Regions from separate parts of the Homo sapiens genome. Here regions 2 and 3 are each linked to region 1. The links are contacts of gene promoters, found by promoter capture Hi-C in blood cells and fetal thymus (Javierre and others, 2016). All regions are on one chromosome and are shown on one strand. Each heading gives the region's core, a stretch centred on a gene start or on the middle of the fragment in contact. The rest is flanking DNA. Distances are from core to core; before and after follow the strand shown.

Region 1 (4,521 bases), core at 524-3,023:
GTCTTGCTCTGTCACCCAGGCTGGAGTGCAATAGCACGATCTCAGCTCACTGCAACCTCCACCTCCCAGGTTCAAGCGATTATTCTGCCTCAGCCTCCCGAGTAGCTGGGTCTACAGGCACCCGCCACCACGCCCGGCTAATTTTTGTATTTTTAGTAGAGACCGGGTTTCACCACATTGGCCAGACTAGTCTTGAACTCCTGACCTCGTGATCCGCCCTCCTCGGCCTCCTAAAGTGCTGGGATTACAGGCATGAGCCACTGCGCCTGGCCTGTGGTGGACCTTTAAGGCTTCTTCCTAACAAGGTCTACTGACGACATGTAGGTAATTGTGGAGTGACCTGGCAGGAAGAACTGTGGCAGAATCCTCTCGCCGGACTCTAACACTAACTAGATCTTGTGGAAAAGCCAAGTCTTTGACTGGCTCAGCCTAGCTTATAGGAGTCAGATGAGGTTAATATTGTAAACATTTGTGTCTTGTCTTCCCAATTCAACTGTTAACTTCCTTGAAAGCAAATACTGTGTTCTCTAAGTCTCCCAATCTCTCCGTTCTTAGTTCTTAACGCACTTTCTACAAGAATCAAATATAGCGCACCCTGCTCATGGTCAAATTTTCCCCACAGAATTTCCTTAGCCCTCCATTCTCACAAAGATCTAACATGATTCTCGAAGTGTTTCTAGACCAAGGAACACTTCATTAAAAGTCAATTCAATTCCAGCTGCCCCTTCCGTTGCAAACCCTCTGGTGTTGTTAAATTAACCACTACTTTGAAACAGTATGGGAACAGTATGAGAATGTCGGAGCTGGAAGGAAACTTAAAGCCTTGGAGATCATCTAGCAACTACTCCAACACTCTCGATTTACAGTTAAGAAAACGAAAGAGACCCAGAGAAGCGAACACAGTTGCCTAAAATCACCCAAATGGACAGCTGAAAGCTTCGTGACTCCACAAATAGGATTTTCCTCACACCAAACTCCGTATCTTGACATTCCCAGAATGGGGATGGTCGGTGGGCTGGGAGGGGGGTGTTGGGGGGGGGGTGAAGGAGAGAGTTTGGGCAGCTCTACAAACAAAATGCAGCAACTGCACTGTAGATAACATCCGTCCCCAAGGAGAAGCAGCCCAGGCTGACTTCAACCTGTGGCTGCAACCCCCAGACAGAAATCTGCAGCACTGGAAAAACCGACAACACATCGGACCGAAGAGGAGGTGGTCGCAGAGAGGCAAGTCCTGGGGTCTCCCGGGCAGCGGGAGAGCTCACTCGTAGCGACGGAGACCGTTTCCAATCTGGAAACACTCCAACCTGGGAACGGGCTCTTTTGGCACGAAAGAGAAAATGTGTGGGCAGGGTCACAAATCCACCAACCTAAAGCAAGCGTCAGAGAAGTTTCTGGGCAAGGGCGCACGGCGCCGAGGCTCCGACCCCGCTGCAGAAGGAAGCGGAGGGAAAAAAGGGCAGAGCACTGGGGTCGCGAAGAGGAGGGTCCGCGTTCACCCGCGCCAACGGCAGCCCCGGGAAACCAAGACCCCGGCGGCGTCCAAACCGCGAAGCCCCGCCCCCGGCAGGGGACTCCGCCATCCCCAACGCGCCCTCGAGCCAGCGCGCCGGTGCCTCTTTACCCGAGCAGGCGCCGACTCCGCCATGGCTCCAGTCGCCCCTCAACACCCAGACCCCGCCTCGGAGCCCCCGTGCTGCGTTCCTGTCCGCTCGGCGCCCCAGAGCCTGTTGGAAGCCGCCGCCGCCGCCGCCGTGTTGATGCCAGGTGCATTCTGGGAGCAGCGACCTCCCCGGCACAAGACCGGCTCCAGCCGCTCTTCCTCACTGTGCAGGCTTCCCATTGTGCCCCCGTGCGGCGGGAGGGAGAACGCTGCTTGGCACTCCCGGCCAGAGTGCGGGCACCAGGAGGGCTCAGTCACTCAAAAGTCAAGACCAGGTTCCGCGTTTCAGGCAAAGCCACGGGATCCTGCTGTCTTCCGTATGCCCAGCACTCTGCTAAATGCTTTGAGGGATTCAAAAATGTGTACAACTCAGACTTTTTGCTGAGGAAAGAACATGTAATGTTGTTGGGGAAAAGAAATATGGTTCCAAAAGGCAAGTGATTTTATTCCAAAAGTTCACCTGTTATTTGGCTTTTTAGAAACTGGGAACAGTTTCCATATCAACAGTGTGGAGCGTGGGGTCAGGCCCAGGCCAGCCCTCTGTAGCCTGTTAATTATGGTAATCATGTGCCTTGGAAAGTCCAAGACAACCCTGATTTCAAATATTTCCAGTCCTCATGCTACATGTAAGACGATGTGTCTGGAATTTTTGTTGGAAAGCACGGCCACATGACCATTTAATCGCCATGTACTTAATCCCCAATACCAGCAACACTACGGCAACCATAGCTGCCTAATTTATACCATTGTCTCTCTGGAGACAAGCAATGAACTTCCACTTCACAGGATAGGCGTGAAGTGTTTCCTCTGAGAACGAAACTTTTTTTTTTTGAGATGGAGTTTCGCTCTTGTTGCCCAGGCTGGAGTGCAATGGCGCAATCTCGGCTCACTGCAACCTCCACCTCCCGGGCTCAAGCGATTCTTCTGCCTCAGCCTCCCTAGTAGCTGGGATTACAGGCATGTGCCACCACGCCTGGCTAATTTTGTATTTTTAGTAGAGACGGGGTTTCCCCATGTTGGTCAGGCTGGTCTCAAACTCCCGACCTCAGGTGATCCGCCCACCTCAGCCTCCCAAAGCGCCGGGATTACAGGTGTGAGCCACCCCACCCGGCGGAGAACGAAACTTTTAAGATCATGACTGGCTCCTTCCTCACATGCAGGGCTCAGTTCAGATTCTACATCCTCAGAGAGATATCCCCAGTCCCCCCTTTCTACAGCCCCACACCATCCTCCATCTCAATACTCAATCTCGTTACCCTGCTGGAAATTTTTCATACCATTTATCACCATCTGAAGTAATCTCTCTTTTTCACTCATTTACATATTAATTATCTGTATCTCTTCCACTGAAATGTCTGTCTACTGTATCCTCCATTTGTTGTACACAGAAGTGTTCATATTTGTAAATGATTGAATGGTGAATCAGAGTGTAAGGATATGAAATGTCATCTCAAACAGAGGCATTATTTCCAGGGCAACTAGATCAACGGGCACGTCACTGAATCATTAATAAATCTAGAGAAAGAATGGGCCAGGCTGAAGAAACCGGTCAGTCAGGGAGATCCTGTCCAGAGGGTCTGACCTAATCTCTCAGACCAACAAACTCTTGGTGTCAGATACAGAAAAAAAAAAAAATGTGTCATGGGTGAGGTGGCTCATGCCTGTAATCCTAGCACTTTGGGAGGGCAAGGCAGGAGGATCACTGGAGTTTGAGACCAACCTGAGCAAATAGGCAGACCCTGTCTCTACAAAATTAAAATTAAAATTAAAATGAGCCAGGAGTAGTGGTGCACACCTGTAGTCTCAGCTACTCAAGAGGTTGAGGTGGAAGAATCATTTGAACCCAGTAGTTCAAGGCTGCAGTGAATCACGATCGCACCACTGCACTCCAGCGTAGGCAACAGACCAAGATCTTGTCTTTAAAAATAAAATAAAAATGTTATCCTCCACAGGCACAATATCAGGACATAGGATGCTGAGGTCATTAAACAGTTCGGTCGTAGAACTCATTCCCTCTATTCTATTTCTATACTCACAAGGCAACCTTCTGACGTTGCATGTTGCCAGGTAGCTTCTGGGAGGCAACATGCAGGTGAAGCTGATGCACATGTATACCTCAGTCTCTTGAAAATGAGCATGTTTCAGCATCCCAGACTCTGAGCCTGGAAGTCTGGAAAAAGGTTCAGATCAAATTTCCAGCCTGCAAAGGAGGCAGCACCAGGCACCAGGGTTGCAATCACGTGGGCTGGTGGAGATGGTGTGGCGCCTGCAGTCCCCCGGGCTGATGAAGACAGTGTGGCACAGTGATTTGCTAAGTGGGGCTGGGGAGTGAGACCGTCTGGGTCCCTAGCCCAGCACTGCCAGTATATTAGGTTTCTCTAGACAGACTAATAGGATATATATATAATGTTATATAAAGGGGAGTTTATTAAGTATTAACTCACATGCTCACAAGGCTCCACAATAGGCTATCTGGAAGCTGAGGAGCAAGGAGAGCCAGTCTGCGTCCCAAAACTGAAGAACCTAGAGTCTGATGTTCGTTGATGTTCGAGGGTGGGAAGGGTCCAGCATGGGAGAAAGAAGTAGGCTGGGAGGCTAGGCCAGTCTAGTCTTTTCACATTTTTCTGCCTACTTTATATTCTAGCTGTGCTGGCAGCTGATTAGATTGTGCCCACCAGATTGAGGGTGGGTCTGCCTTTCCCAGCCTACTGACTCAAATGTTAATCTCCTTTGGCAACACCCTCACAGACACACCCAGGATCAATACTTTACATCCTTCAATGCGATCAAGTTGATTCAGTATTCACCATCACAGCCACTTACTAGATGTGAAACTTGGTCAGGTCTTTAACTTCTTAGTA
Region 2 (4,521 bases), core at 554-3,053, 480 kb before region 1:
GCTCTTCCACATACTGCTCCTGACCACCGGTGTCTCTCTCGCTCCAGACTAAATATATCCCAGCTCTTCCAGGAATCTGTAAGAGATGCTTTCCAGGCCTCTCACCATCTCAGCCTCAAGACAAACTGTTTTGTGATAAAATTCTTAGAAAATGAGAATGGGAACTGACTGTGGCCAGGGTAGGCGCTTCTGCCAGTGGCCTCCCTCTCCCCAGAAAAAGCAAAGAGTGAGGGTTTTGTGTGTGAGGGAGTGAGCAAGTGTGAGTGTGCAAACACCTGGGCTACAAAACTCATCTTCGGGAGGAGGAAGGCCACCACTGGCTGGCTCTGCCCACACACCACCGGCCTTCCTCCTCGGGCCCCACTTCACCTCCTTCCCCCAACCAATGGAGAAAAGCTTTCTGGGCTGACCCAGGACTCTTGTAACTGGGCAGCCTCCTAGCTCATAGCTGCACACTGGTCCTCCTAACATCACCCTTCCACCGTGTCACTAGCCCAGCACAAAAACTGCAGCTTCAGTGCCTGCTGGACCTGCCCCTCTCTCACAGTCCTTCCCAACCTAGACCTGCTCTCCCAGTGGGCCTCAGGCTCGGGCTCCCTGATCAGACCCTGCCACAGGACCTCTCAACCTGGAGGCTGTGCTCACATTGCCCTGGGCTTCTGGGAACCCTCCCTGCTCCTCTCCACCTTACAGTGACCTACCACTCCCCAAGGTCACTCCTGGCCACCTTCTCCATGAAGCTACGTAGTGTGAGGATATTCCCCTCATCAGATCTGAAAGGTCAATGGCCCAAACTCCTCACTTTACAGAACAGGAAACTGTGGTATGAGGAGGCCTTAGGATGGGGCCATGGGCATGTCTGAACCAGGGTGTCCCTAGGCTACTTAACTGTGCAGCCAGACCTGAAAAGGACACTTGACTGTCCCTGCCCAACAACATCCAATTTGCCTAGCCTCTCCCTTCTCCCCAAATGCTTGGGGGCACTAATGACGCCAAGGGCCTGGCACAGTGTTTGCTCTGCCTAGTCACACGCTGCCCCCCATCCATGGCTGCCTCGGACTGGCCAAAGCTCAGGAGCCACCACGGTTGCAGAACTGGCTCCAGGTGCCCATCCAGAAGAACGTGGAGCAGTTGCTGGTATCAGCACCAGATACCTGATACCTCACTGATATCAGCACCAGAGTTTCCCAGCATCGTCACAGCCCACACACAACCTAGCCCAAACGGTGCCCAGGCTGTCACGGCCTGGGGCTCTCCCTCCAGTTCTCAGATCTAAACGCCTTACCTGCAGGCTTCCCAAGACAAAACTTGGGGTTTGTTCTATCTTTGTTTCTCCCCATTTCCACGTCCCCAGCCCCCGGGATCCAGGATTCCACCAAGAACAGAAGTATGAGATTTACTCACTGCCTCCGAGGCCTTCATGCCCACTCTACCAGGATAACTTGTAACGAAACAAGCCACGCCAAGGGGGTTTCCCCAGGTGGAGACTGGGCCGTGGGTACCGGCGGCGGAGAGCTGGAGAGAGGTTGTCCGAGGACCTGAACTTCCCGGCACGAACCCCTGAGCATCAGGCCTGCCCAGCCTCACCCAGCCGATCCCGAAGTTGCGGGGGGGTCCCAGCTCTTTCTCGCCCTACCGCCTTCGGGGCCGCACTGCGCCGAGGGGTCCGCGCGTCCGCCTGCCTTACCTGGCGCGCCATCCCCGGGCTCAGCCTCCCCGCCACTCCTCGGTTTCCGGCGCGGGCCCTGGCGCGGGCGCACGCGACCCTCGTCGGCGGCGGCCCAGGTCCGCGCAGGAGAAGGCGGGGCCGGGGGCCTGGGCCGAGGGGGAGGGGCGGGGGTGGGCGCGCCCGGGCCCGCCCCCGGCCTCGTTGAGCCCGCCCCGAGCGCCTCGCATCCCTTGGTGGGTGGTGCCGTTTCCGCCCGGAGCCCCCGGCTTCGGCGGCCCGGCCGGCCGGCGCAGACGCGGACTACACTTCCCAGAAGGCGCCGCGGCGCCGGCTCGGAAGCGGGGGGCGGAGACAGGGCGGGGCGGACCTGGCTCGGGCCTCGTCCCCGCCCCCTCCCCTCGTCCCCGCCCCCAGCTGCGGGTAGAGGTTGCGCGCCGAGACCAGCCGGGGCGGCTGTGGGCGTGCAAGCCCGCGGGTACGCGCCGCTTATCACTCATTCATTCCCGCAGCCACCACTCAGCGCGTCCCATGTGCCAGGGGCTGATGGTGGGGATGAAGAGGGACCCATCTTTCCCAGAGGCCGCGGTCGGGGAAACCCGACCTGGAGTGAAAGGGGTCGAGGGTCCGGCCGGGCGTGGGTGGGACAGAGCAGCTGCCAGGCCCCCGTACATCCTCACGTCTTTCGCCCGCGCCCCCGCTCGCCGCAGCCATGACCTACCTTCGTGTCACATTTTGCGTGCCTGTTTGCTGGGGTGGTAACCCCAGTTGTTCCTGGCACATAGTAGGCCTCAAATAAACGTGTGATGCGGGAAGGAAGCGCGGCCCACTCTCCTCTGCCTCCCCCTGCGCTTCACGAGTTCGAAGGCCTGGTCTGGGCGGGCGCTGCGAGAGCGCTCCGGGGGTGCGGGCGAGGCGCAGCGAGCCTGGTTTTCCTGTCTGGAGAAGGACCCCGTCATTTTTATAGAAGGCTGCTGGAAGGGGGCCTGCGGGGCTAAGCCTGCTGTGCCAGACAGAAGCTTGGAGGGGAAGGGGAGGCTGTGGTCCCACGCAGAGGAGACTCTGCTCTGAGTTTGGAAGCCCCGTCCAGACCTTGCGGCCCAGACAGCGCTCTGCCTGGGCAATATCGGAGGGAAGGAAAGGGAATTCCTCGCCCAGTCGCCCGGGGCTGGCCCTTGCAGCCGCGCCGGCCATGATCACGGACTCGGGTACGATGCCGACAACCCCTCGTCCCGGCCTCCGAGGAAAGGCGCACGCCCACTCGGGCAAAGCCCCCTCGGTCATACCCGAGACACCTTAGACACAGGACCGGCGTGTGCGCAGCCTGCTGAACAAGGATTTGAAGATATCACAAGGCCCCACCTCGCGGAAAGGGAAAACTTAAAAGTCCAACTTTTCAAGAGCCCTACAGGCCACAGCCCTCAGGGTAAGTCGCCTCCTGGGCTTTAGGCCGGGTCCCACCTCCGTGCCGAGGTGAGGCGGGCTCCTTACAGTAATGTGTTCCTGCTCCCAGCTCCTCTCCACCGCCCACCCTCCGGCCCGGGATCCCTAAACGTTAAAACCCCCTAAATCAGGGGTCCCCAACCTTTTGGGCCAGAGCCCGGTTTTGTGGAAGGGAATTTTTGCATGGACTGGGAGGGGGGTTGTTTTGGGATGAAACTGTTCCAACTCAGATCACCAGGCATTAGATTCTCCTAAGGAGCCCGCAACCTGGATCCCGCATTCACAACAGGGTTCTGGCTCCTATGAGAATCCAGCACCTGCAGATCTGACAGGAGGCAGAGCTCAGGGGTAATGCGAGCAAGGGGGAGTGGCTGTAACTACAGATAAAGCTTTCCCTGGCTTGCCCGCAGCTCACCTCCTGCTGCACTGCCCAGCTCCTAACAGGCCAGGACTGGTACTGGTCCATAGCCCAGGGACTGGGGACCCCTGCCTTAAACTTAAACACCTGTAGAAAGAAATCTCTATCCAAGTAAGATGCACCTTTGTTTTAAGCTGTGCAGATTCTTGGCACCTCTTTGACTCAAACGTCCACTTCCTGGCTAGGCTTCCTGCCCCATTTGTGGACCATCAGTCGCTAAAAGCAGTTCACCAACATGAAATTTGCTGCATGGCCAATTATTTAAATTATGGAGACACTTCCTGGCACCCCTATCCCCCAAATTTTAGTTGCGCCTTTGACCCTGTAGACCTGTATTTACCTCAGCCCGTGTGTGTGCGTTAAAAAATAGTTGTGAAGACCTGTCCTGAACCAGGTTTATTGGATGGCTCTGGACACAGACAAAGGCAGGAGTGGAGCTGAAACACATCTTTAAAAATTCCTTGGCTGGGGCCAGGCACGGTGGCTCACACCTGTAATCCCAGCACTTTGGGAGGCCAAGGCTGGTGAATTGCTTGGGCCTGGGAGTTCCAAACCAGCCTAGGCAACATGATGAAACCCCATCTCTACAAAAAATGCAAAAATTAGCCAGGTGCAGTGGTGTACCCCTGTAGTCCCAGCTGCTTGGAAGGCTGAGGTGGGAGAATCTCTTGAGCCCAGGAGGCAGAGGGGGGTTGCAGTGAGCCAAGATCACACCACAGCACTCCAGCCTGGGTGACAGAGCAAGACCCTGTCTCAAAAAAAAAAAAAAAAAATTTCAATAATTCAGATTGGTTGTTTAGCAAGTTGATATTCAGTGGTTTAGCTTTTACCATATTTGGCTTTTGGCTATCTGGTCATTCTGTGAATTGACTTTTGGTGAACTAGTCGGCACTTTTCCCAAATGAATCTAAAGGCAAATTGTGCTGGCCAGTCCTCCATGTGAAAATGGCTGCAACTTTAAAATATTTTCTGATTTTCATTATTATTTCTTTTT
Region 3 (4,521 bases), core at 738-3,237, 260 kb before region 1:
GAGGACCCAGTAAGTACTCAGTATAGACTTGTTGACTAATTTCTACTGAGTGGGTTTTGTCCCTAGCCAAGCTCAAAAGGACTCAGTGTCCCTATAAAATATTCTTCATTTCATCTGGCTAGGCTTTGATGTGACAGGCTTCCCCCACTCTGAAAGCCATGAGAGACTATTGTGAGGTCCTCAAAAATTGACAACTCAAAGGTCAGACCTATAAAACTTCAAAATCTCTTGTAAATATGAGTCAGCACCTGAGTAATAAGCTTGTTTCTATTATAATTAATAATATTGCTGGGGTGGGCCATGTTCTGCACAGTAAGTACTCCTTGAGAAATCTAATTTTTGTACCTAGAACACTATTTTCAAAAGCTGTGGAGATTTTAGTTATGGGAGAATTCAATAACTTTAGTTATTAAAAATTTTTAATGAATCTAAAAACAAAACTCTGATGCTTGTTTCTTATGTCTGGATTTTTCCATATTTCCATATTTGGAGTTTGCTCCAAATATGGAAGGGCCTCCTATATTCTTTTACCATCCACCTCACCTCCACTGGCGCAAGGTGACCTCACTCCTGCCCTGGAGAGCTCAGGTGCAGAGACTTGCACTCTGCTGAGGGCGTCTGGAATGCCCTGTTGTTCATTCCTGTCGCTCAAAGTTCTGACCCCAGAGAAGATGCCAGGGCCCTGGGACGGGTCACTCTCTAAGCTGTTGTCAGTCATAAACACCCTAGGTGTAGGCAGGTTTTAACATCACCATATCAGAATAACTGAGGCTATGGACGCTTCTAGAAAACTTGAAAGGCAATCATGGATGCCAGGGCACTGAAACTTCCTCCACACATCTGCCACTTGCCCACCTTGCCCCTGGCTTTCTAATGCCACATCAGGATCTTACCTCCAGGTTGGCAGAGGGTGATGCCATCATGGTGGAAACTCAGCAACACCTGAGATGCCTGGAGCTATGCTTCTCAGACGGAGGCACGGACCCCCTGAAAGGGAGGTCCAGGGTGAGGAGGGATGTGGGAGTGATACAGGAGGGAGGCAGGAAAGTGCTGGGTAGAGAAAGGCAGGGTCCCTGGCAAAGGCTCTACCCTCAGGCCTGTGCCCACTGACCTAGGTGAGGACAGGTATTTCTGTTTCTGTGGCTAAATGTGGCATTTCCAAGACCACCCTGGCCTGCCACACACCCCATCCTGTGCCTTTAAACATCCTGAGACCCTAGTGGGCACGGACACGAGCAGCTGGACATCGAGAGGAACTCAACAGCAGAAGAACACACGGGCAGACACCAGCAGACGCCGGCAGGCCATCTATGACGGGACGACACGGAGTTCAGCAGAGGCCAGTCGGAGGAGGGCCCGGCCACTGGGTGGCCTGACTCCAGGGAAAGGCCACCTTCCCACTCCATCCTCCTTCTGGCCTCTCCATCCACCTCACTGAGAGCTGCCACCACTTAATAAAAAGCCTTGCACCCATCCCCCAAGCCCACGCGTGATCTAATTTTTCTGGCACACTAAGGCAAGAACCCCAGGATACAGAAAGCCCTCTGTCCTTGTGATAAGCCCCACAGCCTGCCTGCCTACATGCTCCCGCTAGAGGTTTGAGCAGCGGGGCACTGACAAAGTGAGCTGCAGCCCCCATCTCACACCCTGAGAGGCGGATGAGGGAATTGTTCCCATTTCAGGAGCAAGAGAGGGGTTTTGAAACATCAAATAAATTTTTTACTCTGGTCAATAAATCAAAATAATCTTTTAAAATTAAAACAAGCACAGAAGTTTTATAAAGGAGACAAGATTTAATGGATTGTTAAAGTATGACAATTTATCACACCTTCTGGCTCACCAAGGGCCATTTCAGGCAGCGTCCAGACCCACAGGACATACATTCACTTTTCTCTGTACTCAAGGGCTCTGGTATAGAATATTTTTGAGGCACTGGCCTCCAGCCAGCCAACCCCAGAGGACTGTGAGTCTCCCAGCTCCCAGCAGAAGGAAAGGAGGTAGCTTCTCAGAGCCATGGCCCTGACCATCCGCATCTGCAAATTTCACTGAGGGATTTGAGGCAGGAACTTGGCACTGGCTCCATGGGAGAGACTCCAGGGCCAGCTGCAAGTTCTCCAGCACTTCACCACATCTAACCGCTGCAGGGTAACGCTCAATGTGAGAGCACTCAGACAATGTAAGGGAAGTTAAGCTCGAGCAGACACCACCTGGAGCCCAAGGATGCCTGCTGCAATGCCTGGCCAACTTTCACCATGCCTTTGTATCTGTCAGGATAGGCTAGGTTAAACTGTGGAACAAGCAACCCCCAAACCATGTTACAACAAAAAGTTTCATGTTCATGCTGTAAGTAGCTCATCATGGGATGGCTGGGGAGTCTACTCAATGTCCCCCACCTCCAGGATGCAGGCAAATACAGCACCCACCTCCTCAAATATTGCTGGGTTACCATAGTAGAGGGAAAGAAAAAACATCAGCCAGAACTTGTCACATGGTCCAACCCAGCCAGAAGAAACCAGGAAGTGCCATCCAGCCATGGTCTTCAAGAGAAACCAGCTGGAAATATTTAGTGGGCAGCAATGATTACCACAGTCTTTTTGAAAACCCCAAGCCTGAACTTTTAGGCTGTGTGCCTGGTCCCAGGGGAAAAGCTCAGGCCTAAGGGAGCAGCTGGAAAAATAGAGGTCCACCTGTTCTGCTGTACCTGCTGGAGTATAGGAAGCACTCATAGGGGTGCATGGGTCCATAGTCCCTACATCTACACAGTCTATGTGCAGTATGAACCACACACTTCCTGCCTCCCTGACACCTTGAGTTGACATGTGGTCTCATGTTCTCTAGCCCTTCCAGGCTCCTTCTGGGTGTGTTGAAAATGCTTTATGATTTTTCTTCTAGGAATACTCAGCAGGAAGGTGGAGATGGTAGGGGCTGCAGAAGTATTAGAGCAGAGGAGGGGATGATTCTTTGGACCACAGTTGATCACACCACACAGAGCAATCAATTAAGACTTGTACTAAATCATTACTTTATGTTGCCTAAACCTGCCCAGTATTAGGCACTGCAGGAGAGACAAGAGAAATAAGATATAGTCCCTGCTCTCAGGGAACTTATAATCCAAGAGGTGAGTTAGGAACTACTACCTTGTATTGTAATTTTTTTCTCAGTGCCATATGAATGGCACCGAGAATAAAAATTATTAGAGTTGGGACAATGCAGAGCTTGCTGCAGCCGTGATTGGCATGGAGAGACTTAACTGGAAGAATTAGGGCATATGCTGGTCTGGAAAAGGTGTGAGAACTTCGGGTGGGCAAGAGGAGAGGGGAAAAGCATGAGGAAAGGCACAGGAGTGGAAACTCTCATGCCTGCTTTTGACACCTGTGCCCAAAATGGAGGGAAAGGCTTTGGAAGCCTCATATATCAATCCAAGGAGGTTTATCTTCGTTCTTTTTACAAATAGAGGCTGGAAAACCAGCACCAGAGATGCTCTGCAATAGATGCCTGTCTTCAGTGGAGGACAGAGCAAGTCATCATTACCCTAACTTGGCTGTCTGCAGAGCCCCAGCTTCACCCTTACCTCAACCCCTACAAGGAACTTGTTAAAAAGAGACCTTCTTTTAAAATAAGTTTTCTCCACATTACTCAGGACCCATCCCAAAGACATTTTGATTCAGTAGATATGAGATGGGATCCAGAAATCCATATCCTTCACAAGCTTCCCCAGAGACTGATGCAGCTGCTCTGAGAGCCAGGCTTGGAAATTACTACCTAGAGATGACCCTGGCATATCCGACTCAGCCTGTCAAAAGGGAACTTTTTAAATTGCACACTAAAAATGTCTCTTTATTTCTAATGCACTGTATTTCTGTCACCCAGTGGTGTGATCTCCACTCACTGCAACCTCTGCCTCCCGGGTTCAAGCGATTCTCGTACCTCAGCCTCCCCAGTAGTTGGGATTACAGGTGCGTGCCACCACGCCTCGCTAATTTTTTCTATTTTTAGTAGAGACGGGGTTTTGTCATGTTGCTCAGGCTGGTATCAAACTCCTGAGCTCAGGCAATCCACCCATCTTGGCCTCCCAAAGTGTTAGAATTACGGGCGTGAGCCACTGCGCCCGGCCCTAAAATGCTTTATATCTTCCTACATCAATTTTTTTTTGGGCTGTCATCCAGCTCACACCTCTACTACCACCCTCTGGTCTGAAATGCTCTCTGCCTATCAATATTTTGCCAATTCTTCAAGATCCAGCTCAAATTTTATCTATTCTGTAAGGTCTGCCTTCTTTGAAAAAGATTACAGATCTCTCACATATTTTCTTATCAGTGTGTGCTAGGCAGTTGGCTAGTTAGTCTTGGGGAATACACAGATGAGCAAGTCGTGTTCCTGAAAGGCAATGAGCCTCTGAAACTACGTGGGGGCCCGTCCAAGGCGCCCTCCTTCCCCTGCTCTGGTTGGCCTCTTTGAGAACATTTAAATTTTTATTTTTCTCTCCTTGTTTAAAAATACTATCCTTGTCATGGAAAAATA

The links. Contacts are between HindIII fragments. The CHiCAGO score rates a contact against its expected background, and 5 or more counts as called.
Region 2: the fragment with the promoter of KRABD3 here is called in contact with the fragment with the promoter of ZNF212 in region 1 in 1 of 17 cell types (naive B cells); the score reaches 6.3 in naive B cells.
Region 3: a fragment that was not itself captured here is called in contact with the fragment with the promoter of ZNF212 in region 1 in 3 of 17 cell types (total CD4 T cells, total CD8 T cells and neutrophils); the score reaches 6.4 in total CD4 T cells.

The regions. Positions count from the first base shown.
Region 1 is chr7:149,236,903-149,241,423 of GRCh38, reverse strand. It overlaps ZNF212 (zinc finger protein 212), which reads right to left and starts at 1,773. Exons shown (of 5, transcript NM_012256.4): 1 at 1,622-1,773. The coding sequence starts at 1,645. RefSeq lists an enhancer at 1,712-2,006. The HindIII fragment of the contact is 6,599 bases long and covers 939-4,521 here.
Region 2 is chr7:149,712,233-149,716,753 of GRCh38, reverse strand. It overlaps KRABD3 (KRAB domain containing 3), which reads right to left and starts at 1,803. Exons shown (of 17, transcript NM_001290187.2): 1 at 1,688-1,803. The coding sequence starts at 1,699. RefSeq lists enhancers at 881-1,513, 2,151-2,650 and silencers at 1,716-2,155, 2,982-3,276. The HindIII fragment of the contact is 2,289 bases long and covers 399-2,687 here.
Region 3 is chr7:149,498,669-149,503,189 of GRCh38, reverse strand. No RefSeq gene overlaps it. Among named protein-coding and RNA genes, the nearest start is that of ZNF746, 3.1 kb to the right of the region's middle. The HindIII fragment of the contact is 3,449 bases long and covers 263-3,711 here.